Regions from separate parts of the Homo sapiens genome. Here regions 1 and 2 are each linked to region 3. The links are contacts of gene promoters, found by promoter capture Hi-C in blood cells and fetal thymus (Javierre and others, 2016). All regions are on one chromosome and are shown on one strand. The core of a region is centred on a gene start or on the middle of the fragment in contact, and the rest is flanking DNA. Distances in the headings are between cores, read along the strand shown.

The links. The method cuts DNA at HindIII sites, captures the fragments that hold promoters and counts their contacts. A CHiCAGO score of 5 or more calls a contact.
Region 1: a fragment that was not itself captured here is called in contact with the fragment with the promoter of AKAP1 in region 3 in 2 of 17 cell types (monocytes and fetal thymus); the score reaches 6.3 in monocytes.
Region 2: a contact is called between a fragment that was not itself captured here and the fragment with the promoter of AKAP1 in region 3, in 1 of 17 cell types (non-activated CD4 T cells). The highest score is 5.4, in non-activated CD4 T cells.

The regions. Positions count from the first base shown.
Region 1 is chr17:58,089,492-58,093,673 of GRCh38, reverse strand. It overlaps DYNLL2 (dynein light chain LC8-type 2), which reads right to left. Exons shown (of 3, transcript NM_080677.3): 3 at 1-4,182. Among named protein-coding and RNA genes, the nearest start is that of DYNLL2, 8.2 kb to the right of the region's middle. The HindIII fragment of the contact is 8,795 bases long and covers 1-4,182 here.
Region 2 is chr17:58,512,198-58,516,375 of GRCh38, reverse strand. It overlaps MTMR4 (myotubularin related protein 4), which reads left to right and starts at 1,738. Exons shown (of 18, transcript NM_001378067.1): 1 at 1,738-2,013; 2 at 3,435-3,524; 3 at 3,870-3,986. The coding sequence starts at 1,969. RefSeq lists a silencer at 1,555-2,014 and an enhancer at 2,875-2,934. The HindIII fragment of the contact is 2,193 bases long and covers 799-2,991 here.
Region 3 is chr17:57,083,996-57,087,995 of GRCh38, reverse strand. It overlaps AKAP1 (A-kinase anchoring protein 1), which reads right to left and starts at 2,750. Exons shown (of 11, transcript NM_003488.4): 1 at 2,598-2,750. AKAP1-DT (AKAP1 divergent transcript) reads left to right here and starts at 2,958. Exons shown (of 3, transcript NR_186437.1): 1 at 2,958-3,156. RefSeq lists silencers at 1,704-1,793, 2,074-2,373, 2,414-2,993 and enhancers at 1,672-2,174, 3,214-3,293. The HindIII fragment of the contact is 3,215 bases long and covers 1,166-4,000 here.

The sequences.
Region 1 (4,182 bases), core at 1,102-3,601, 1.0 Mb before region 3:
GAAAGTATCCTCGCTGTCCTTGCTAAACCAGAGCCCCAAGAGAGGGAACATCAGGGATTCACTACTAAGAGATCTGGGCCTACATCTTAAAGAGTATCCATGAGACCCTTGCTGCCAAACCCAGTTAAGCCTTTGTGCATCACAGTGCTAAGTTCTAGTAATGCCACCAGCTACATGGGCTTTGCCACTCACCTTCTCTGATTCAGTTTGCTTATCCAAAAATGTGTCTAATGATTACTGAGTCTAGCTCAGGGGGGCGCTCTCAGGTTTCAGCAACATAAACTGAAATGCTTTAAAAATAAAATGCACTTTATGAACACACTATTTCATCCTCCCATACTGCCAAGCAAGAGTGGCTCAGGCACTCTTGCTTGAATACACCTGGGAGTGACCCTCTCACGCCTTTCAAGGTGGCAAGGCTTGGGCAGCAAGGAGAGCCGTGCCTAAGGCAGCCATTCTCTTCAGAAAAGGCAAGGCTGCCCTGGGGCACCAGGCCTGTCCAGGCTTGCTCGCACCCTTCTTTTTTCATTTGAGCAATCTGTATGTATCAAACACTTCCTACAGGACAGGCACTGTTCTGTTTACTTGAAGATAAGCAGTTAAGAGAAAAATGCTCTCACAGAGCTTATATTCTAGTTGTCACAGGCCAGAAAGTAAACAAAAAACAAATATGTCAAGCGTTGGCAGATGCTACGTGGAATTAAACTGGGTAAGGATAACAGCGATGGGGGAGAGGTGCTATCTTGCACAGGATGTCAGAAAGCCTCTCTGATAAAAGGATGTTTGAGCAAAGACTGAAAGGAGGTGAGAGAATAATTTAGCGGGGAACCACACCTTAAATCTAGTCTGGAGGACACTAGAGTTCAGGGAACAGAGATCGACAGTGCCACAGCAACAAAGAAGATTCCCTACCATGCTGGTTATTATCCATTTGCCTCCCTTAGATTGTCACCACCTTGCCCTTTCCTGCTGTTCCCAGTGGGGAGGGGGACTGAACCCTACAGACTGCATCCTGGGTCTGCCTTGTCATCTGCCATTTGGTTGGGTTCAGTCAAAGGGGGTCCCCAGAAGACTGGAGAACAGGATACAAGGAGCAGGGATATTGATGCTCCTATGGGCACAGTTCTAATAATGGCTGCATTGTTCCGAGAGAATTCCACAATTTCCATCTGCTTTCCACAGTCCCTTCAGTGACACATGCTCACATACTTTCCCATCCTGGGCCCCGAAAAGTGGAGGCTCATCTCCTCCAGGAAGCCCTGCAGGATTAGTCTTCCAGATGAGCACTGTGCACCTACCTGTGCAGGAATGTGTTGTTCACAGATGCCACCTGGACTGCCTCTTTCATCAGGGAAGAAAGTAGATGAGCTTTGGCCCTGGAGACACTCATCCCTGATGAAATGTGAACTGTGGCCTCACTCTCCCTCCCAAAGCTCCAGCTCTGTCAAATTACTCACGACAGCTAAAGCAGTAACAGAAGTTGGGGCTCTAGAGTCTCTCAACTTAATCCCTTAGGACCTCACTGCCCCAGAGGTAGAACTTCTCCCCAAGATCAGCCAACCACCTTCCTAACTGGAGGAACCCTATCTACCTACCTCCAACACTCAATAGCTCATTGCCCAGTTCATTTCCTTGATAACACATTTATCACTATTGGAAAAAGTTGATCAGTGTGTGTATGTCTGCTCTACACATAAGAATGTGTATGTCATAGAAGCCTAGAACTTACTTGTCTCATTCTCCTCTGTGAACAGCATCCTAGGCCCAAGCATACAAGAACTCTTAAATATTTTTGAGTAAAGAAATAGTAACACAAAGAGGGCAAAGCACCTCTGGCTCCCTAACACCTCCAAGAGAATTGCAGTCACACGATGGTGGAGTCAGGGGTGGGCAGACACTCTCAGAAGTCTTGGCACTGCTGATTTCTCGAGTTGTGTGTCTGGGCAACAGAGGATTCAGAGAATCACTTAGGTTCCACCAAAAGAGGTGCCATCTTTCTAAATATCCCCAGCTTTCCATTTCTGAGTGGCCAGACCCTTTGCTAAATAGTCTCCAGGTTCAGGAAAGCCGAGAAGGGAGGAGTATGAAAGATAAGAGCTTTGGGCAAAAGTTGAAGCAGCAAAGCTCAGGCAGGTCCATGACGGCAGCTGGGAAGGTAGCAGTTACTATCCCAAAGACACAAAATATGATTCACCTGGCCATCACCACCAAGGAAGGCAGAACCCAGGAGCCCTTAAGGGTGAGTGCTGCTGGTTAGTTTTCCTCTACTTAAGGGGCATAAGCCTAGGCACAAATAAGTGCTGCTACAGGCCAATCAGTATCTAGTGGCTGGTCTTCCCTTCAGTCCCCATTCTATTCCACCCTGGAGACTCTCCACCCTCACCCACTGTGTGGCACCACTGCCACCATGCCAACCCCTCATCCCCAAAGAGACCCAAACAGTGCAGAGGTGCATCAATCAACCTTTAATGTCCAAAAGAGGCGTGGATGCAGAGCATAGGAGATGTGGCAGGGTCTCAGGCCCTGCTCCAGAAATGAGGGAGAGATGAACACAAACCAGACACTTTCAACTGGCCACACAGTCTGGGAGGGCAGGGGGAAACACAGATTTGGACATTCATAAAAAAATAAAACCTAAAATCAAGCACTCAATTTTGTGCCCACTGAAGGGTTTGATAAAGGGAACTCAGTCACCACCCAGGTCTCCCCTCCCCTGCCAACATCACAAAGCAAGCTCGGCACACACTAAGGGCTTAGGGAGGGGTATTCTCCTGCCTCCCCACCAGCCCCAAGAATGGACTTGAAAATAAAAGAATAAGCTGGATCCCCCACCCCCCCACATTGTCAACCCTACACGAGAGTTTTGAAGGCGACTCATGAAAATCAGCAGCTCAAACGGCAATGACCACCCCACCCCAAACCCCACCCCACTCCTATTTCATTAACAGACAAGATTTCCCCTGCATCCTCCTCAGAATCTCCTCCTCTCACAGCCCTGCTCCATCTCCTATGTCCTGGCTTCACCACTGCAAGACTGACCTCCTCCAAGGCTCCCAGAAGCTCCTCTTAGCTCTTTATCACTTCTATCCTCACCTCCCACCAGAGACTGCAACCATCCACAGTCACTGTCCCTCTGCACTGAGACCCAGCTCCAGAGCAGATGGCAGCATGGTCATCCTGTCCTGGGTGGTCCTCCTAAAGCCTTCCCAGGGAGCAGACAGCCAGAGAGCAAGCAGAGTGTCTGGGCTAGATGACAGCAAGGAGGGGACACCTATCTTTATTTTCAAAACAGATATCCCCAGAGGCTTTTAGCATAAAAGCCCACTTAGAACTAACTGTGCCCCCTACCTACCCATACACCCTAGAGATTCCACACTGTCCTGCCCCCTCCCTCCCTTCTACCCCAAACCCCACACACACATACACACACATATACACACATATTCACACATATACACAGAAGAGTCAAGGGAGACATCAATTTGGTTTGATTGCTAAGACCTAACTAAGGAACTACAGTCACCAGAAATTCCCTTGCCAGCCAACTAACAACAGGGGCTGCTCTAAGAGAACTCCAGAGGAATGAGGAAACTGAGGGCTAAGCAGGGAGCAGACAGGAGAAAAATGTAAAGAAAAAAAAGATTCAAGCTAATCCTACCCCAGCATCCTCCTGTCATGATCTCTGGCAGGAAGAACAAAAGAAGGTAATCCACAAAGACACAGCCCTTACTTAGAAATTCTGACAAAGACAGCAAGACAAATCTGCTCCCCACTCCCACACACCACAGACAAACACATCTCAGGGCCCCTAAAGAAGGCATCCCCACCCCACCCTCCGCCCCAAGCCATAGAATCACAGTTCAGTGGAATATTCTCCCTGGTACTAGATCAATCCCTCCACCTTCCTTCCTACCCCTTTTTCCTTGACAATCCCAACACTGTCCCCCTGCAGCCTCCCTGGCCCTCCCAAAGCAGCATCCACCGCCAGGAAGAGGCAGCTGCACAGTTTTAGTTCCACCTCCAGAGACCTATTTCTTTTCCTCAGCCCTCCTAGTCTTTCGGCCGCCTAGTCTCTATGGTGGGCCTTTTATTTTGTATAGGGAAAGAAAGAGAAAAGGGAGAGGTGGGAGAGATTTCCTAGTGCAATACAACCAAAAAATATTTTTAAAGTCTTGAAAAATA
Region 2 (4,178 bases), core at 646-3,145, 1.4 Mb before region 3:
TAGAAATCATTTTCTGCATGTGCTAGGCCCCACACTTTCCTCCTACTCCCTACCCACCACTGGTTCTATTAACCCTTCATAACAGCCCTCTTCTTGCTTTTCTTGGGTCCCCGGTAGAATCTCTGTGTTCTGGTCTGAAAAGCTGGGCCTTCTTTATCTCAAGATCTTTGGACTTCTGGTGGGTCCTTTGAATATTGTGGATGCTATATCAGGAGTGACTCCACCAAAACTGTGGGGCTTCTCTAGTTCCAGGGTGCTGCTGTTAAGCCACTACAGGTGACAGCTGATTGAATATCTATCAGGATAGCATCTTCAGGGTGCCCAGAATATCACCAGAGGTGGTTTACAATGATCCTATTAATTTTCCATTAACTGTAACAGCCCTTCTCTCACCCCAAGTCCAGGGAAGCCCTTAACTCCTAAGAGCTAGGAGGAGGCAGTGAGATGGGAAAGGCCTAGAGAGCTGTAGGCCCTGGCCCAGACCAGGCCCTTAACCTGGTAGTATCTCTTCGGTGTCTTTTAGGTGTCCCTTGTGCTTAGGGGCAGGTTAAAGAATTCAGTAGATGAGAGGATTTCCTCCTTCCCTCCCTTCCTTCCATAGACATGTGGATTTGGTGTGTGCACTATTGGTTCAGTCTCTTCTCAGAAAGCCTGCTGGTTTTGGCCCCCACCAACAGATAGCTCCTCTTTTTCTCTTCTGGGCTACCCTGAAAAGAGCATGGGCTTCACAGTCAGCTTCATCTAATTTCAAATCCTAGCACCACCACTTAGTTAAATTACATACTTTCTCTCTAAGCTTGAGTCTCACGAGTAAGACAGGATAAGGTTTACTTCTTGGGGCTTGAAAAGTTTTACTGAGATAATGTTAGAAACTGCCTGGCTCATTGTAGATGCTTAATAAAATGTCAGGTTTTCTTTTATTACTCCCTTCTCCCCCAAACAAGACAAAAGCCCTGGTGTCTGAAAGTTACAAGGTGCAGGAAGTTTGGGGTTCCAGCCACCTCCCTCTGTGACTCTTGGTGACATTTTGAGCCCCTTATTCCTGGTCCTTATTCCTTGGCCCTCTACCCAACTCTCTCTACTCCGCTGCTCCTGGGTTTCAAGTTTCGTTTTTTTGTATAGCTTCTGTGGTCGATACTTCTAGCTCTTCACTTTCCCAGACTAAGAAATCCTTTCTCCTCCAAGAAGGGCTTTCTTACCCAGAGATCAGAATGTGAAACAAGGGAGAGATGGAGCTGAAGGAGTAGGGTTGGGTAGGGGCGTTGGAATAAAAAGCTCATTTCCCTTTCCAGGAGCGTGGAATGACTAACCTGGCACCATTCTAAGGGGAAAGAAAGGTTTAACGAAGTCACGGGATTGAAGGACCCTGATGGGCAGGGGCATGGTGGGTAGTGGTTTTGGAGGGAAAGGAGGAAGCAAATGGGGTGCGGGTAGGTGAGCTCCACCTTGGGATCCAGAGCAGGCGTCGGGGGAACTTAGGGGAGGGGGCGCGGGGATGGGTTTGTAAGAGGGCATGGGGTGGCTCACCTTAGAAGAAGGGAAATGAGAAGATGTGGGCGGTCCCGTAGCCCAGATTCCTGAAAGCTCCTAAAGGTCCCTGGAGTAGGGTACGCCCTCCTACGAGGCCCAGGGTCCGCGGGGAGGGAGGAGGCTGGGCTTGTGGGCGGGGCCCGCGGAGCCGCCCCGCCTCTACCTCCGCCTTCCCGCCGCGGTCCCGGGCTCTCCCCTCGCCTGGCTCCCCTCCCTTCTGCACTCGTGCGGGAGGGCGGAGCTGGGCCCGCTCCATTGTGGAGAGGAGGGGAGAGGCGCGCGGGAGCCGCGCGGAGGCCCGGCCACCAGCGCCCTAGCCTCTTGGCCGCCGCGGCTGCACCTGGCGAGCCCCGCAGCCGGGATGCGGCGGGCGCCCGGGGCTGGCGGGCAGCGCAGCGGCTCCGGGGACATGTGCGCTGGCCCAGACCGCCCGCGACCATGAGCCTGACCGCCCGCGTCTCCTGCTCCATGCTTAGCTGCTTCGTAAGTGCCCACCCTGCCTTTGGGGGCCTAGGAGGCACCCGCAGCCCCGCCCAGGGTCAGCCCTCGATTTCAGCCCATCCCCCTTCCCGAGGCCCCTGGCCCGGCCCCGAACGTTTGGGGGGCAGGGAAGGTGGGTTAACCCTTTTATTTCTTGGACTTGCTTCAATCTTTGGGTGCCGGAGATGGTCGAAGGCCAGGAATGGAAATTCTGTGGTCCATCCTGGCCCCGCAGCCACTGCCCTTGACTGCAGATCTCTAGGCCCCGCCCTGCAGGGGTACATCCCTTTACCTCCGCCTCTCCCTCTTGGTCCCACCCGCTGAATCCTTGCTTGGGGATGTGGGATGTGGCTAGTAGGCTGAATGGGATGTTAGGAGGTTGGTCGGGGAGCACGGGATGTCTTTGAGCTGGCTTGGGGCTCCAGTCCCTTCCCTCTTCCACCATTCCATCCCTCACCTGGCATGCCAGCCTTTTCTCCTTGACTGTCCCCCAGACAGCCTCTCTTCTCCATCTTCCCTGCCTCTGCAGGGTTCCGTACCTCTGCATCATTCCCGGTCCTCCCCTCCTCCCGCTCTGGCTGATGCTCCTTCCCAGCTTCCCCCATCTGTCCTCTCAGCTGTCCCCCCACCTTCCCCGTGGGTGTCTGCCGGGCCTCCTCTCTCTCTCTCCCCTGGCTGTCCTTGGGTCTCCTGGCTCCTCCCAGGCGCGTGGATCCCCCCGGGTCCCCTCCCTGGTGGTTGGGAGGGGAGTTCCTTTTGCTTGCTGTGGGTATTCCTCAGGAATTCCCCTCTGATTAGCAGGCAGAGCAGGTTACTTGGCAGGTAATGGGGGCTTGTCAGCAATGTGGGTCTAACAAGAAGATAAGCCCAGCTCTCAAACACGTCTTCCTTTTGAAAGCGTCGGTGAAGGCCCTCTAGAGGCGTGGGACTGAATCCCCCCACCCACTCCTCTTTGTCTCCTTCACCCACCAGATTGAAGCTTCAGTGGCTTGTAGGCGCCTGATTTCCCTTCTCTCTGAAACCAGCTGCCATACCTGGCTCCTTTTCCTCAGGACAGCACTTTCCCATCCCCACTCCTGCCTTACCCTTATGCGGGTCTAAGGGAAAGAGTCTTTCTTTTCCTTAGTTTTCTCTCCTCCATTTTTGAAATGTTGGTTCTATAGGAGAGTCCCTCTTTGAAGAGTGCAGATTCCCAATTCCTCCTGGGGCCTCACTCTTTCCTTAGGCTTAATAGGCTGATATGCTCTCCATTTCACCCTTCCCTGTCTCCAACCAAGTCAGATCTCTTTTCCCTTCTCTGGTGACCAGAACCTTTAGAGGTGTGTGTGTGTGGGTATCTGTGGATTTCTTGGTGGGGAGAGGAGCAGAATGAGCCTGATGGGCTAAGTGGAGCTTGGTGACTTAGGACTGTGGCCTTCCTACAGGGTGAGGAGGGGCCCCCCAGCCTGGAGTACATCCAAGCCAAGGATCTGTTCCCCCCCAAGGAACTAGTGAAGGAGGAAGAGAATCTTCAGGTAAGGAGGAGTTGGGGGCCAGGATAGATGGGGCTCCCTGCCCAGTTAAAAAACACCCTCCCTTCTCCCAAAAATCCTCAAGGGCATCTGGTACCAGAGCTCTGGCTTCATGTTCCCTGGTCTCTGGAGGAGGAGGGTTTGTCTGCGCATCCTGGAGCCTTTGGCCGCAGGGAAGGAAAGGCAGCTTTCCTGTACAGCTGTTGCCTGGTGCTGTTACCGTGGAGAGAACTCTCCTCTCTTGCCTTGGCCCACCTTTTCCAGAGGGGATCCCACAGATCAGGGGCTGTAGAAGAGGATAAGGTGGTCACTCACTTCTGGACTGAAGGTTTCTCTGCCCCTTGACAGGTCCCCTTCACAGTGCTGCAGGGTGAGGGAGTAGAGTTCCTGGGCCGGGCAGCCGATGCCCTCATTGCCATCTCTAACTACCGGCTGCATATCAAATTCAAGGACTCTGTCATCAACGTGAGTTTCTGTATTGTTCTCCTACCCCTAAGCTAGAATCCCTATGAAGTTCAAGGTGGGATTGTTCCAAGGCTGTCCTTGATCATGTCATTAAAAAAGTTGGAGGCCGGGCGCAGTGGCTCACGCCTGTAATCCCAGCACTTTGGGAGGCCGAGGCGGGTGGATCACTTGAGGTCAGGAGTTCGAGACCAG
Region 3 (4,000 bases), core at 1,501-4,000:
ACCTGAAACAACTGACTTCCCCACAATAGGAAAACAGACCAAGCTACAGAAAGGCCCAATCATTCAGACTCACAGGGAAGATTAGGAAGGAGTGACCTAGGGGAACTCTACGGCCAGCTCTCTGGGTACATTGGCTACAAGCTGCCTGCTCTTCAAAGCCCTGAAATGCACACACAATCAAGTCATGTTGCAGGCTGGGAGCAGGAGGCTAGCCAGCAAAGCTTAGGGAAACCAATTCGTTTTTCCTCCCAAACAAGCTTCTGGGTCAGAGGCTAAGGAGAGGGGTGCTTTTAATAGAATTCAAGTCACTCAAGTAATTCAAGAGAAACAAAGTCAGTCTCAGGGATTGTTCAGGGAGGAGAGGGGAAGAGCAATGCTTAAGCACCTATCACAGTCCCCAGTATCACAAATATGATCTCCATTTGTCTTTAGGACAGGAAAAGGGAATACTGTAGAGGCTAACACCAGCCTTCCCCTAAAATATGGCTGCAACCCAGCCTATGTCCAAAGCTCAAGAATAATTTGGGTTACCAGGCAGCAAGATAAATTGCTTTTAAATATTGATGTTCAGCAACCTTACACTGGAGACATATCGACTTCAGCACCTGAGCAGGCCACTTACAACAGACACCTCCACTGTCACCCTGCAGTGGCCAAGTGAGAATGCATTTCCTAGAAACAACTGGGAGATGGGAGAGATATTCCTACAAGGAACTAGACCTAGACACAAATCCATTAGACCTGTCTCACTCATTGGCTAGGATCTGTTACCTGCAAGTTCTGAGCCATCATCTGACAACATGCATGAAGACAGAGCCTATTAATCCAGTAATGGACTCAAGCTTTAGTGATTTGCATGCCTGTAGGATCCAGAGGACCTCCTCTAACCTAGGGCCATATTTCAAAGAGAATACACCCAAGAATTATGCAGAACCTACAAAACTAGTTAGAGGTTAAAGAAAAGTTCAACACAAGTCAAAAGGTTCCCAAAACATAACTTCACTTGCTTCCAGTGCTCAGGGTCTTAAATAATCAGCAGGTGAACCACTTCAATGCCAAGATCAGAGGAATTATATAAATGATCAAGTCAGGCAGCCTTCTTCATTTCAAAGATGTTCTGTACCTTTAAGAGCAAAGTGGATGGGTGGTGCTAAGAGTCCAAGCTTTGCTTTCTAAATAAAGAGTTAAAAAAAAAAAAGGTACTAATTTGGGAAGGACTTAGCAGTTACAAGAGCTTGTAAGGCTACTAGTTGCCAGAATTAATAGCTTTTTGTGAACGGTGTTCCTTGATCAGTAACTAACAGATACTGTTGCACCAGGTCCAGCAGCCTAGATTTCACTGGAGACAAATCTAAACACGAAGTAACGCGCACTACAGTAGGGGAAAGATACCCAGGTTAACCTCACTAATTGCCCTGCGCATACACCCTACCCAGCTTGAGAGGCCTCGACTCGCACCTGGAGCGAAGTCCACCGGGTTTGTGTTAACGGCGGCAGGAAGGCGCCGCCACCCAGGACATCCCCCAGGAGAGGAAGATCCCGAAACGCCCAGGGCTCCCATGCCGTTCCGAGTCGCCACAGCACCGCCTACCACGATCAGCACCTTTCTTCTCCTATCCCTCCCTGGAAGGGAAACAGGAAGACCTTCAGCTAGGGCACAAAAGAGTTGAACGCCAGAAAGCCCGCGTTCGAGGCATCCAGCCACTGCCTCTCCTAGCACATCGTAACCCCAAAACTGGCGCGGTCCCTCCAGATCGCAGACCCCGGGCCCTGGGCCGCAGGCGGGGCCGGACACGTGACCGTCGGGGCCCCCGGGCGTGAGGTCGGCAGACACCCCAGGCTGGACGGCCTCCACCCCTCCGGACACGCCTGCAGGGGCTACGAATGCAAATTCCCCCCGAGACGCCCCTGAGCCTCCGACCTCCAGACCCCAATTCGGTTCGAACGGTCCCTCAGCCCGAAACACGGTTGGATCACAACCGGCCGATGTCCCGGCCCATCTTCCCAGTTCCCCTGGCTCGCCGCACGGAACTCCCAGGGGCTGCGCCGGCGGGCGAGCCGAGGGTGAGAAGTTGGGCGAGGCTCCAGAAGTGAAGGGGCAGCTCCGGCTCAGACTGTGTACACACGACCTTTGAAAAGTAAACGCCCGCGGGGCTGGGCGACCTTGGGTGGGACGCGCTCGGGTCAGCCTCGCAGGCGGGTGTGCACGCTCCGGTTAAGTTGAGGTGCAGAGAGGCGACCCGGGCGTCGCGCCCTCGCCCCCCGCCCCCGAGGACAGTGACGCGCGTGGGGAGGACGGCGCGGCCGCAGAGCGCCGCCCAGAGCCGCGCACACGCGATCTGTCAGGAGCCCGCGGGCAGACAACCGGCGGGGAAGGACGAGAGGGGGCGCAGACGAGGGAGGGAAAGATGGGCCTGCCTGACAGCGCGCGGCGGCCGAGAGCCCCCAGGACACCTCTGCGTCCGGAGCGTCCCGCCCCCGGGGTACCTGGAGGGCGCGTCGCACCCTGCACCTGCACCTCAGGCTCCCCATCGCCCCGACCCCGCCGCCTTCGGGTCTCCGGCAGGGGGTCCCCGGCGCAGCTGCCCCCGACCTACCAGCTCCTCGGCTACCATCGGGGTGCGGGATGCGGAGTCCGCGCGCCGCCGCCGGCCCCCGGCTGTGCCCCGCGGCCCGGCCCGCAGCGCCGCGCTTCCGCAGCTCCCCCACGTGCTAGCCCAGGCGGGTGGAACACAGAGACATTAAATACTGAAGACGCGCGGCGACGTGCCCGCAGCGCGACGCAGGCCCCGCCCCTCGCCCTTGTGCCCGCGCGCTCCCGAGCCCGCCCCGCTCACCTGCGCGTGCGCGCCGCCGGCCGCTCCCGGCAGTGCCTCCGCCGCGCCTCTCCCAGCTGCGCCAGAGGGGGCGCGGTCTACAGCGCTGGGCTAACATCCCGCCGCCGCCCGGAGCCGGGTCTTGCTCGCGCTCTCGCGAGAGAGCCGTCATCTCTCCGGTGCCCGGGAGAGGGGCCGGGCGGGACGGTACAGCAACCGGAGGAACCTTGATTCCCTGCCCCGCAAGCCCAGCACCGGTTTTGCCGCCTTGTCTCGAAGGGTCAACCAGGCCATCTCCTGCCTCGGGACGGAGAGCGCCCTGGAAAAGGCGGAGGGGCCGGTGAGGAGCAGGGCTTCCCTCGCTTCGGGGCTTTGAGCTTCCCTGTGACCGTCATTTCCTTGTAGCGTATAATTGGGTTGGCCATTAATAATTGCTCGATAACTGCATAATGGTGAAACCTGGTACCACTCAAATGCAACTTTCTTGCTCGTTTTCACAAGTCGATGTTATCGAAATGAAGCACTTTTCTCTGAATTGGTGTGGGTTTTGGAATGATTTTTGCAGAGATAGTCACGGTGAGTCACTATCTCTGCCAGGACCTTGGGAAAATAAATTCCTCCAAAATAAATGGAGAGGGTAGGGTTTTGGCTGTCCAGCCCTGCTGTCATCCTTAAAACAAAGTGACTTTAAATGAACATTTGTTTGGCCAAAATATAGAAAATAGATCATGCTAAGAACTAACAATTACTTGGGAAAATGCTTAATCTTCACTAGTGATCAAATGCAAGTTTAAATGACAGATGCCATTTACTATACCTAATGAGATTTAAGTCAAATTCATATATATATGAATCCCAATTGCATGGTGTGGTAGATGTCAGGAAGGAAACAAATAGGAAACTGACATAGGAAAGAAAGAAAAAGAGCCCTATTTTTTATTTTTTTTTTTTTGTGAGACGGAGTCTTGCTCTGTCGCCCAGGCTGGAGTGCAGTGGCACGATCTCGGCTCACTGCAAGCTCCGCCTCCCAGGTTCACGCCATTCTCCTGCCTCAGCCTCCCGAGTAGCTGGGACTACAGGCGCCTGCCACCACGCCCGGCTAATTTTTTGTATTTTTAGTAGAGATGGGGTTTCACCGTGTTAGCTAGGATGGTTTCGATCTCCTGACGTCGTGATCCGCCCGC